Regions from separate parts of the Homo sapiens genome. Here regions 2, 3 and 4 are each linked to region 1. The links are contacts of gene promoters, found by promoter capture Hi-C in blood cells and fetal thymus (Javierre and others, 2016). All regions are on one chromosome and are shown on one strand. The core of a region is centred on a gene start or on the middle of the fragment in contact, and the rest is flanking DNA. Distances in the headings are between cores, read along the strand shown. Region 1 holds the start of GPR160 (G protein-coupled receptor 160). Region 2 overlaps SKIL (SKI like proto-oncogene). Region 3 overlaps SKIL (SKI like proto-oncogene). Region 4 has its middle 23 kb from the start of ACTRT3.

The links. The method cuts DNA at HindIII sites, captures the fragments that hold promoters and counts their contacts. A CHiCAGO score of 5 or more calls a contact.
Region 2: a contact is called between a fragment that was not itself captured here and the fragment with the promoter of GPR160 in region 1, in 1 of 17 cell types (neutrophils). The highest score is 8.9, in neutrophils.
Region 3: a contact is called between a fragment that was not itself captured here and the fragment with the promoter of GPR160 in region 1, in 1 of 17 cell types (neutrophils). The highest score is 8.6, in neutrophils.
Region 4: a fragment that was not itself captured here is called in contact with the fragment with the promoter of GPR160 in region 1 in 1 of 17 cell types (naive B cells); the score reaches 5.5 in naive B cells.

Annotation. Positions count from the first base shown.
Region 1 is chr3:170,036,600-170,039,683 of GRCh38, forward strand. It overlaps GPR160 (G protein-coupled receptor 160), which reads left to right and starts at 1,396. Exons shown (of 4, transcript NM_014373.3): 1 at 1,396-1,616; 2 at 2,316-2,444. RefSeq lists silencers at 1,371-1,850, 2,161-2,210, 2,371-2,420 and an enhancer at 2,276-2,775. The HindIII fragment of the contact is 12,490 bases long and covers 1-3,084 here.
Region 2 is chr3:170,367,968-170,371,086 of GRCh38, forward strand. All of the region lies in intron 2 of SKIL (SKI like proto-oncogene), which reads left to right. Among named protein-coding and RNA genes, the nearest start is that of SKIL, 12 kb to the left of the region's middle. The HindIII fragment of the contact is 2,693 bases long and covers 64-2,756 here.
Region 3 is chr3:170,384,562-170,387,743 of GRCh38, forward strand. It overlaps SKIL (SKI like proto-oncogene), which reads left to right. Exons shown (of 7, transcript NM_005414.5): 4 at 1-204. Among named protein-coding and RNA genes, the nearest start is that of SKIL, 28 kb to the left of the region's middle. RefSeq lists a silencer at 1-156. The HindIII fragment of the contact is 1,974 bases long and covers 925-2,898 here.
Region 4 is chr3:169,745,259-169,748,087 of GRCh38, forward strand. No RefSeq gene overlaps it. Among named protein-coding and RNA genes, the nearest start is that of ACTRT3, 23 kb to the right of the region's middle. The HindIII fragment of the contact is 358 bases long and covers 1,160-1,517 here.

The DNA of each region.
Region 1 (3,084 bases), core at 146-2,645:
AATAGCATTTAAAAAAAAAAAAAGACTGACATTGTGGAGAGATACAAACGTGTATGGACATGGTCATCTTTAATCTCTAACTGCTATGACACTCAGAGAGGTTGAGAGGCTCAGGACACTCCCCTTGTTCAAGGCTCTGCGTGAAGAGGAGAAGGAAGAAATTGTGCAATATTTTATTTTATTTTATTTGTTTCAGATGAAGTCTGTCTCTGTTGCCCAGGCTGGAGTGTAATGGCGTGATCTTGGTTCACTGCAACCTCTGCCTCCTGGGTTCAAGTCATTCTCCTGCCTCAGCCTCCCAAGTAGCTGGGACTACAGGCATGTGCCATTACGCCCAACTAATTTTTGTATTTTTAGTAGAGGCAGGGTTTCACCATGTTGGCCAGGCTGGTCTTGAACTCGTGACCTCAAGTGATCCACCCGCCTCGGCCTCCCAAAGTGCTGGGATTACAGGCTTGAGCCACTGCGCTGGCCTAATTGTTCGATATTTTAAATGTTTAAATGACCGGCAAGTCGTAGGTGCTCAACAAATATTTGTTGAATGACAACAAATTAGCACTGTTGACACAAAAAAGGCAATGCAATATATGGGCTATTTAATATTTGCAGATTTTTATTTAAAAATCTGAATTCACAGTACACTGCAGGCGGTTGCTTAGAAGCATACAAGTTTCAAGAAGTTCTGTCACCCTGTGTATACTCTTTTTTTTTTTTTTTTTTTTTTTTTTTTTTTTTTTTGATACGGAGTCTTGCTGTTGCTGCCCAGGCTGGAGTGCAGTGGTGCGGTCTTAGCTCACTGCAACCTCCGCCTCCTGGGTTCAAGCGATTCTCGTGCCTCAGCTTCCCAAATAGCTGGGATTACAGGTGCGTGCCACCAAGCCCGGCTAATTTTTGTATTTTTAGTAGACATGGGGACCAACGTGGACCATGTTGGCCAGGCTGGTCTCAAACTCCTGACCTCAAGTGATCCGCCCACCTTGACCTCCCAAAGTGCTAGGATTACAGGCATGAGCCACCGCCTGGCCACCCTGTGTAAACTCTTATCTGGAGACAACTGCCAAGTTTACATTTGCAGAGGTAAGGGAAGGAGAGGCCCTGACCCAGTGGCCCCCGCTCGCCCGCCTGCTGGGGAGATGGGGAGCTCCTAGGACAGGGGCCGGGTCCTCAAGATGTGGCATGAGGAAGGGGGTCTCACTGAGCCCCCAAGCGGCTCCCGCACTGCGCACCCCTGGCTGCGTCCCTCTGCCAGCCTCAACTCAGCCCTCTCCTAGCCGGCGGGGGGTGACAGTCTCTGTGATATCTTTCCGTCCCGCCGGCAGGCGGCGCCCTCCGGCCCTTGTTTCGTTGGGCCCGGACGGGACGTGCGCGCTCAAAGGTTGCCCGTCTCTGACGCCCGCATTTCCTGGTCTGGAGCCGGCTGAGCCACAGCAGGGTCGCCGCGGGGTCCCGGGGCCGTGCTCCCCTGCCCCTCCCGGGAGCGCGCGGGGCGGGGCGGGGCGGGGCGGGACCAGGCGGGCGAGCTGGGCCCTCGCCCCTCCCTCGGGCGGTCACCTGGGCACGGGCGCTGCAGGTGTCGGGGCCTCAACCTTGCGGAGCCGACAGCCATCGATCCTCGGGTGAGTGCGGGCGCAGGTGGAGGGCGCCCGGCGCTCTCGCCACCGGCGTCCCAGCCTCGGGGCGGCGAACGGTCCCCGCGCCGCTCCCAGCCTCCCTGGCCGGGCGTTCAGCGCGCCTGGGAGGGGAAGGAATTTCCTTTGCAGGAACTCAGGGGCTGGGGGTTCTCTGCTACTTAAGAGATCCAGGAGTGGAGCCCGGACGCCCGAGCCTTCCTGCTTCGGGATGGGGATTACCGCGGAGCCTTAGCAACTGGGGTCTGTCGTGGGTTTGAGGGCAGGGGGTCTGGGGAATGGGCGTGTCCCGCACCCAGAGACTCGCCACCCTCTCTCCAGGGGAGATGCTTTTTAAACATGACAAACCCAGCAAGGTTATAGAAATGGGTGTATGCAACTCTTCGCTCTTTCCTGGCGCCCAGAGGTGAATAGTCTCACACACACGCGCGCGCGCGCGCGTGCGTGCATTCATTGGGGCCGACTTTGCCTCCCCTCCCCTGGCCTCGAGCGTTGGGGACGGCGCCCCCGCCCGCGCCCGCCACTGGGATTAAGCCCCAGGGCCTTGCCCGGCTATTTGTTTTCCGAGGCCGTTGCGTCCGGGTAGGTTCCTGGATGACCATCCTGGCTGGCTCAAAATTCCCTCTAGATTACCTGCGACCACCCCCAGGAACCCGGAGACTGAAACTCCTTTTCTCACCTGCGCAGGTGGCCTCGAGGTGGTGGCAGGGCCGCCCCCTGCAGTCCGGAGACGAACGCACGGACCGGGCCTCCGGAGGCAGGTTCGGCTGGAAGGAACCGCTCTCGCTTCGTCCTACACTTGCGCAAATGTCTCCGGTAAGGGGAAGTGTCGCTTAAATCCCAGAGATAACCCCCACCGAGAAGCATCACAAAAGACATGAACGAGTGTTTAGCTCTCAGGATTGTTATTGCTTCGAGTGAAATGGTTTCTTGTGTGCTTTTGTGCATTTATATATAAATATAAACATATATGTATACATTTGACAAGCTCTAAGACCGGCACTTGTGATATCTCCAGAATAGAGTTATTATAGTTATTTGGAAATTGTCAGTGAGGATCAGCTTGGTTGCTATGCGAATTGCAGGGAGGAGGACCTGTGTGCAGTTTCAAAACGATTTAAGAGAAATTCGGTGGCAATACAAGGTGTGGACGTTGGTTGGATCCTGATTTGATGAATGTTTTTTAAAATGGAGATGATGCCCGAGTGCGGTGGCTCACACCTGTAATCCCAGCACTTTGGGAGGCCGAGGTGGGTGGATCACCTGAGGTCAGGGGTTCGAGACCAGCCTGGCCAACATGGTGAAACCCTTCTCTACTAAAAATACAAAAATTAGCTGGGTGTGGTGACACGCGCCTGTAATCCCGGCTACTCGGGAAGGCTGAGGTAGGAGAATCGCTTGAACCCGGGAGGCGGAGGTTGCAGTAAGCCGAGATGGCGCCACTGCACTCCAGCCT
Region 2 (3,119 bases), core at 160-2,659, 330 kb after region 1:
CTTCTTCATTTCTGTAGAGATCATTGGAGTAATAATAGTACAAAATATTTCTCCCCTCTTGCAAGCTTTTAATTATACTTGTATTAGGCAGCGTATTTGTCAGTATAAACCTAATTGAGATAAGGAACAGTAGAATGGGCAACTACAAAGAGTTGTGTTGGGACAGAATGTGATCTAGTAATAATTGTGGTGGATTTGATGGTGATTTGCTACCCCAGTGATACAGATTATATTTTGCAATTAGCAAAATTTTTGATCAAGTGGGGATAAGTTGAGAGTCAGATGAAGTATTTGTGCTCATATGAGGGACCATTATGAATACTTTTGTCTAACTTTCTAAAATTAGTAACTGTTCCCACTAGTTTACAGAGTATTTTTTCTATTTTTTTGGAACCGAGTTCAAAGCCTGGCATGTCAAAGGCACTCAATTAAATTTTTCTTTTTTTAACTGAATAGATTTTTGAAAAATAACACTAAACTATATTTTAGAATATTTGGATTTTCTTTTAAAGATGGCTTAACCTTTAAACAGATACAATTTGCACATAAACTGTTAATATAATTCATCAAACAAGAGAATGAGCATTTTGGAAGTTAAGAGCCTTTACTGCAGAAATGTAGGATGGTATTTCAAACTACTATTGAAATATTATGTATTTGAGGAGTCCTCCTTTCCTCATTTTCTTATCTAGAATTATATTTCTGAGACAAACAAGATAACTGAATGTTGGGTTCAAATGTATCTCATTTATAGTTTTTTTTACACAGTAATTACAGTAGTTGGATATTTGCTTACTAAAATGAAGTGTGCAAGAAGAAAGTGTGAAACAGTTTTTTTATTATAGAAGCATTTTCTGAATTATTTCATTATTTTCGACTTGTTACCCAAAAAGATACATTGATTGGAGATAGTGCCCATTCCATTTATTCGGTTGATACCACATTGGGGTTTTGAATGATGGAGACCAATACAGACCTGCTTAGATTGGATAAGGTTTTGTTTAGTGCCTTTCTCATTTTTTACAAAACGACTTTTATAATAACTTCAGAGTAATCAAGTTTTTGGAGCTCATTCTGTTAATAACAGGATATGTGGACCCTCCCTATCCCTGGCATTTTTTTTTTTTTTTTTTTTTTTTGAAATCTGTAGAGTGGCTTTGCAAATAGTGCCCCCTGTGGTTTAGGAAATAGAGCCTCTTTATTTTTATTATTAAAAAATAGAATTGTTAGCATATGATTTTTGAAAGTTAGAAATTTATCCTTTTTGTTTGAGAAATGGGAAAAAACTTAGAAACTTTAAAGAAGAAAAACAAAAAAGAGATGGCCGTGTTTTCAGAGTAGGCCTGGATCATCATAGTCAGCCAGTAGTTTTCTCGTAGCAGTGCATATGTTATCAATTATGCCACTGGGAAACCAAAGAAGTAATCAAGAATTGGGCTAATTTTTTTTTTGATAAGGAGTTTTGCTCTTGTAGCTCAGGCTGGAGTGCAATAAGGCAATCTCGGCTCACTGCAACCTCCGCCTCCTGGGTTCAAGTGATTCTCATGCCTCAGCCTCCCTAGTAGCTGGAATTACAGTCATGTGCCACCATAGCTGGCTAATTTTTGTATTTTTTGTAGAGATGTGGTTTCACCATATTGGTCAGGCTGATCTCGAACTCCGTACCTCAGGTGATCTGCCTGTCTCAGCCTCCCAAAGTGCTGGGATTACAGGCGTGAGCCACCGCACCCAGCGAATTGGGCTAATTTTAATCCCTTTAGAATTCTGGGAGTGGAAAGTGATTGTCGAGCTAGAATTCAGTTTGTTCCTAGTAAAGGGGTAGAACTTGTTTGAGAATAGCTTTGGTAATAGCTTGAATCTGTATTTTGTTCACATATAGAATTTTATTCTACTGGGATTCATATTACATAAAATAAGGATTTTATTAGACTCTAGAAAGCAAAAGAATATATAAACAATGCATCTTGTTGTAAGATGTGATTTGCTTCCGGCTGCGCGCGGTGGCTCACGCCTGTAGTCCCAGCACTTTTGGGAGGCTGAGACGGGCGGATCATGAGGTCAGGAGATCGAGACCATCCTGGCTAACATGGTGAAACCCCGTCTCTACTAAAAATACAAAAAATTAGCCGGGCGCGGTGGCAGGCGCCTGTAGTCCCAGCTACTCGGGAGGCTGAGGCAGGAGAATGGCGTAAACCCGGGAGGCGGAGCTTGCAGTGAGCCGAGATCGCGCCACTGCACTCCAGCCTGGGAGACAGAGTGAGACTCCGTCTCAAAAAAATAAAATAAAATAAAATGTGGTTTGCTTCAATCACTAACTCATTATATTAGGCAGAAAGAATGAATAGGAAAGATATAAAATTAGTTTGAGTCCTTTTGATTTCATGACTTCTAGACTTAAGAGTGGATCATAGAAATATGTAATATTTCTATATATACATATATATGTATATATACAGAGAGAGAGAGAGAGAGCCCCCCCCCCCCCCCCGAGCAGGAGTTCATCTTATAGTCTTACAGTCTTCTTATATCTTACAGTCTTCGAATCTAGAATGTGGTAGATGCCTAATAAAGGTTTGGATAACAGTGAAGTCTAAGTGGCCCTATAAAGTTACCAGTGATTCTCGAAGAGGGAAACAGGTTTAGTTTTAAAACAAACCAGCATTTCGTTTTTATTTGTGATGTTGAATTTATTCTGAGATTTCAAATGGCATTAAAAGTACATATTTTGCATTTTTTATGGGAACAAGGAATTAAAAAGCTTAAGAAACTTACTAAAAGTTTGGGTAACATAGTTTGACCCTGTCTTTACAAAAGATTGAAAAAAACAATTAGCTGGGCTTGGTGGGGCATGCCTGTAGTCCCAACTACTTGTGGGGCTGAGATGGGAGTATCGCTTGAGTTGGGGAGGTTGAGACCGCAGTGAGCTGTGATGGCACCTCTGCACTCCAAGCTTGGGCAACAGAGCAAGACCCTGTTTTTCTCAAAAAAAACAAGACAAAACAAAACTTAATAAAAATGATTTAAGACTTCTATGCTTTTTATAGTCTATGTTAAATTTTTTTGTGTGATTATGAAAACAATATAGGCCCATTGTAGTAAATACTAAAAAAGTACAAAGA
Region 3 (3,182 bases), core at 662-3,161, 350 kb after region 1:
TTGCCCCAAATGTGTCACTTACTTCTGCTGTATCCCAGTCTAAAGAGCTCACAAAGACAGAGGCAAGTAAGTCCATATCAAGACAGTCAGAGAAGGCTCACAGTAGTGGTAAACTTCAAAAAACAGTGTCTTATCCAGATGTCTCACTTGAGGAACAGGAGAAAATGGATTTAAAAACAAGTAGAGAATTATGTAGCCGTTTAGGTAAGTATTCAGAGATTATCTTTCTAAAATTAAATATCTAATGAACACATTTATTGAGCATTTTCAAACAGGCTTTTTGTTTGAGCTAAATTTTCAGATAATTGGAGCTTTTACCTTTAAAAATGCTACCCTTCAAAACTCTGGGTGATTTATTTTAATCTCAGTTGCTATACTTTTCTAGCGTGGTGATAGCTCAGGAGACTGAGATAGATACAGGCTACCTGGCCTCAGACTGCAAGTTATTTTTGTCCGAATTTTTTTCCTTTCCTACCTTTTATTTGCTGTCAGTCTTCAGGAGATCCTTGTTTTTCTTTCCTCCTTTTTTTTTCTTTTTTTGTGACAGAGTCTTTATCGCCTAGGCTGAAGTGCAGTGGTGAGATTGCGGTCACTGCAGCCTCAACCTTTGGGCTCAAGTGATCCTCCCACCTCACCCTCCCTAGTAGCTGGGACCAGAGGCGCACACCACTGTGCCTGGCTAATTAAAAAAAAAAATTTTTTTTTTTTTTTTTGTAGAGATGGTCTTGGTATGTTGCTCAAGCTGGTCTCGAACTCCTGGGCTCAAGTGATCCTCCTGCCTTGGCCTCTCAAAGTGTTGGGATTACAGTTGTGAGCCACCGCACCCAACCTTTATTTTTCTTTCTGATTTGCCATGAACTGAGACACCATTTAATAATAAGAAGTATTATGTAAGTAAGAGTAGTTAGGTATAGAACTCAAGGAAGCTTAGTTATGGAATAAAGCAAGGATTGAAAGCTCTGGGGGCCAGGCATATAGCATAAATGTGGAATATTGACTGGTCATTTAAAAGAAAAATAGCTGGTTACTTACCGTGCCTTTTAAAATACTGTGGATTAAATGAGACATGTCTGCAGATATTGCCTGTGTTACCATCCATATAGCAGCACAGCTTTGCTTAGTGATTAGGCAGTGTGACAGTTACTTTAGCTGCATTGGAACAGTTGGAGGGTCCTCTATTTATTTAAGTTTTTATAGAGAATTGAGATTCTTGGGGGTTTTCTTTTCTTTCTTTCTTTCTTTTTTTTCTTTTTTTTTTTTGAGGAGTTTCACTCTTGTTGCCCAGGCTGGAGTAAAATGGTGAGATCTCAGCTCACCGCAACCTCCACCTCCCAGATTCTCCTGCCTCAGCCTCCTGAGTAGCTGAGATTACAGGCATGCACCACCACACCCCGCTAATTTTGTATTTTTAGTAGAGACGGGTTTTCTCCATGTTGGTCAGGCTGGTCTTGAACTCCTGACCTCAGGTGATCCGCCTGCCTCGGCCTCCCAACCAAAGTGCTGGGATTCCAGGCGTGAGCCACCACGCCTGGCTGATTCTTGGGTGGGGGTTTTCTGGTTTTTTTGTTTGTTTGTTTGTTTGTTTGGAGACAGAGTTTCGTATTTGTTGCCCAGGCTAGAGTGCAACGGTGTGATCTCGGCTCACTGCAATCTCCGCCTCCCAGGTTCAAGTGATTCTCCTGCCTCAGCCTCCTGAGCAGCTGGGATTATAGGCATGCACCACCACGCCCGGCTAATTTTGTATTTTTAGTAGACACGGGGTTTTTCCATGTTGGTCAGTCTGGTCTCGAACTCCTGACCTCAGGTGATCCGCCTGCCTCGGCCTCCCAAAGTGCTGGGATTACAGGCGTGAGCCATCGCGCCCGGCCAGGGGTTTTCTATACATTTATTTTGAGGGTTTTTTGTTTCGTTTTTCTTTTTTAGAGACAGAGTCTCACTCTGTTGCTCTAGGCTGGTGGAGTACAGTGATGCATTCATAGCTCACCGCAGCTTCAAATTGCTGGGCTCATAGTCCTTGCACCTCAGCCTCCCTAGTAGCTAGGACTACAGGCATGTGCCACTGCGCCTGCCTCATTTTTTCATTTTTTTTGTAGAGACAGGGTCTCACTGTATTGCCCAGGCTGGCATTAAGCTCTTAGCCTCAAGTGATCCTCCTGCCTTGGCCTCCTAAAGCATTGGGATTACAGATGTGAGCCACCATGCCTGGCCAATTTTGAGATTTTTAAAACTCAGTTTTCTTCAGATTTAAATATGGTAAACAAAAATTAGTAATGACTATTATGCCATATTTACATTGTATTTTATTTCTTAAATTAATTCTAATGACTTCTAAAAAATTATTGAGATAATTTATATACCATAAAATTTACCCTTTTAAAGCCTACAATTCAGTGGTTTTTAATACATTCACAAAGTTGTGCAACCATCACAGCTAATTTAGTTCCATAATGTTTTCTTTTCTTTCTTTTTTTTTAAGATGGAGTTTCACTCTTGTCGCCCAGGCTAGAGTGCAGTGGGGTGATTTCGGCTCACTGCAAGCTCTGCCTCCCGGGTTCAAGCGATTCTCCTGCCTCAGCCTCCTGAGTAGCTGGGATTACAGGCGTGTGTCACCACGCCTGGCTAATTTTTTTGTATTATTAGTAAGAGACAGGGTTTTCGCCATGTTAGTCAGGCTGATCTTGAACTCCTGACCTTAGGTGATCCACCCGCCTCGGCCCATAATGTTTTCATCACTCCAAAAATTAACCCTATAATCCATTAGGAGTCACTCCCTGATTCTCCCTTTCTCGAAGCCTCTGGCAACCACTAATCTATTTTCTATCTTTATGGATTTGCTTATTCTGGACATTTCATATAAAAGGAATTGTACAATATGTGGCTTTTCATGTCTGGTCAAGAAGCTTATGCTTCTTTCATGAAAGATAATGTTTTCACAGTCCATGTTGTTGCATGTACCAGTACTTCTTTTTATGGCCTGATAAGATTCCATTATGTGAATATACCACATTTTTTTTATTCCTTCGTCAGTCGGACATTTGCATTGGGTCTACTTTTTGGCAATTAAGAATAATGCTGCTATAGGCCGGGCGCGGTGGCTCACGCCTGTAATCCCAGCACTTTGGGAGGCCGAGGCGGGCGGATCACGAGGTCAGGAGATCGAGACCATCCCGGCTAAAACGGTG
Region 4 (2,829 bases), core at 89-2,588, 290 kb before region 1:
GACGGAGTCTCGCTGTCGCCCAGGTGGGACTGCGGACTGCAGTGGCGCAATCTCGGCTCACTGCAAGCTCCGCTTCCCGGGTTCACGCCATTCTCCTGCCTCAGCCTCCCGAGTAGCTGGGACTACAGGCGCCCGCCACCGCGCCCGGATAATTTTTTTTGTATTTTTAGTAGAGACGGGGTTTCACCTTGTTAGCCAGGATGGTCTCGATCTCCTGACCTCATGATCCACCCGCCTCGGCCTCCCAAAGTGCTGGGATTACAGGCGTGAGCCACCGCGCCCGGCCCAAAGTCAGTTTTTAACTTTACATTTAGCTATTAATATTCTTTTGAAAAATAGAGTAGCTACCACTTAGCCTTCTTTAGGCCTCTAGTAGTACATACTTAAGCTCAAATTTACAGAAAGCCCCTTTAGGGCAAAATGCTACCATAAAAGCAATGCATCTGAGTCAGAGAACCCAGCCATGTTCAACTTCTCCCACAACCTCTCCCACTAGGAAAGGGAGACAGAGCTCTGAGCCTCAGATCAATCAATGTGAGGAATGACCTGTCTTTATTCTGGTGGCTGGTGTTGAGCTGGAGGAAATGATTTGGTGGCCGAAATTCAGTTGTTTTTGCACATAAAAAAGTATTTTCCCCTCTAAAAAATATTTATTTAACTCTGTCAACCACCACACCAAGCACCACACCACGTCCTGTAACAGCTATCTTGTATTCGAATGACGCGAATGTGAAGCGTAATGTGTGGATTGTGAGGAACAAGCCCCCACCATGAATGTCTGCGAAGAAAAGGGAAAAAGACCTTTAATCTTTGCAGTGTATTAGGCCAAGTATGAAAGCTGACTACACACTATGCACTATGGAGGATGTGTCTGTGTGTATATCTGTGTGTGTGTCAAGGGGCTGATGTTTTTAAAATTGGTAACTGATTTTGCTATATTGACAGCTCCGGTTCCAACCATTATGATTTATTCTGCTGGCTTCATTAAGATATTGTCATCATAACTAAGGCTGGTATAGCATTTACTGTTCATAAAATGCTCTCATGCATGTCAAAATTTGCTCGTTTAACATATGTGTACTAAATACCAACCCTGTGCGAGGTTCTCGCAAGCTTCAGGAATACAAAGCTAAAAGACAAGGTATCCCATCTTTCAAAAAGCTTCACAGTCTGGGGAGGTGAAAGGGAAGCAAACCTCACAGCTGGATTTTAAAACAATGTTAGATGTCCCATGATAGAAGAATGAAGGGGCGCTAAGTAAAATGAAACACAGTAGCTCTGTTTCTGCTTGGAGGGACACAGCCAGGATCCAGGAAGGTGTAAGTAATCGAAAACTAAATAGCACATGATCTAGCAGAGAAGGGACATTTTCTGAAAACCACAGATCATTATGGGATACCACAGGCTCACTGAGTATCAGCAGGTGAGTCTGGTGAGGAAGTGTCAGGCAGAGGTGTCCTGGGCATATATGCCTAGTGTCACATAGGGAAGGTAAAAAATAAAGGTGATAAAAGGAAAGCTTACAAGCAGAGAAGGAGCAGAGTGTCCGCAATCCCCTGAACTCTCATTATCCCACAGTTTCGGCCCTGTGTAGATGGGCCACATGTCCATGGCTAACAGTGCAGTAGAAAGGGACCCTGCCCTACAATCCTGTAGGGAACAGGGAACATCTATGCACTTGGATGTCCCGTGGTCACAGAAGTAGCTTGATAGAAAGGGAGGGTCGGGTCTCTGCAGCCCAGAAACTGGCATCCACCTGTTCTAGTGGGCTAACTCTAACTTGCTGAGCCAACTTTCTACTCATCTACCAAAAACGGGAACATGAGCCTCCAGTACATCCAGATCTATTGCTTATAAGAGGAATGCAGAACAGGAACTGAATGAAGTCTCTTGTCCGCCGCAGCAAGGAGGTGATTCGAAACCACAGGTGTCAAGGAACAACCAACTGTTCTTGGGCAGAGAAGTAATAGGATATGATTTCTATTTTAAAGAGGTCACCAGCATTGTACAAGATAGGTGAAAGATAGGAGACCAGCAGGGAGCTATTGCAGAAGGTCAGACTAGGGGGTCTGACCCAGAGCAAAGAAGGTGGGGAGGGGCAGTCAGACTGGAGAGATGCCACACAGGGATGAAATGGACAGGACTTCAAGACTGCTTAGATGATGGGGATAGGGGTAAAAGAAGGAAAGAACAGAGTCTCATATTACCTGGTGTCTGACGGAGTGACAAGATGGACTGGGGAAGACAGAGTAAGGAGGGAGAGAAAAGTCAATAAGGCTACTTTTTTCAACTTATTATTTTGAAATAACTATAGATTCATAGGAAGTTGGAAACATAGTACAGAGAAGTTCCATGTACCCTTCACTTCATCTCCCCTAAAGGGGACATCTTACATAATTATAGCACAATATCAAAAGGAGACAATTGACACTGGTACAACACATGTGTAGTTGTCATTTGATCACACCAGTCAATTTACGTAACCACGAATTCAATTAAGATAAAAAACTATTTCATCACCACGAACATCTCCCTCATGCTACCCCTTCACAGTTACAGCCCCCTTCCCTCCACCACCCCTATTCCCTGGCAGCCACTAAGCTATTCTCCATCTCTACAATGTTGTTATCTTGAAGATGTCATGTAAATTGAATCATCCAGTATGTGACCTTGTGTGATTGGTTTGTTTCACCTAGCATAATGCTGGAAGTGCACCCAAGCTGTTGCATGTATCAATAGTTTGTTTTTTTATTGCTCAGTGATATTCCATGGTATGGATGTACCACAGTTTGTTTAATCAGTCACCCACTGAAGAACTTTTTTTTTCTT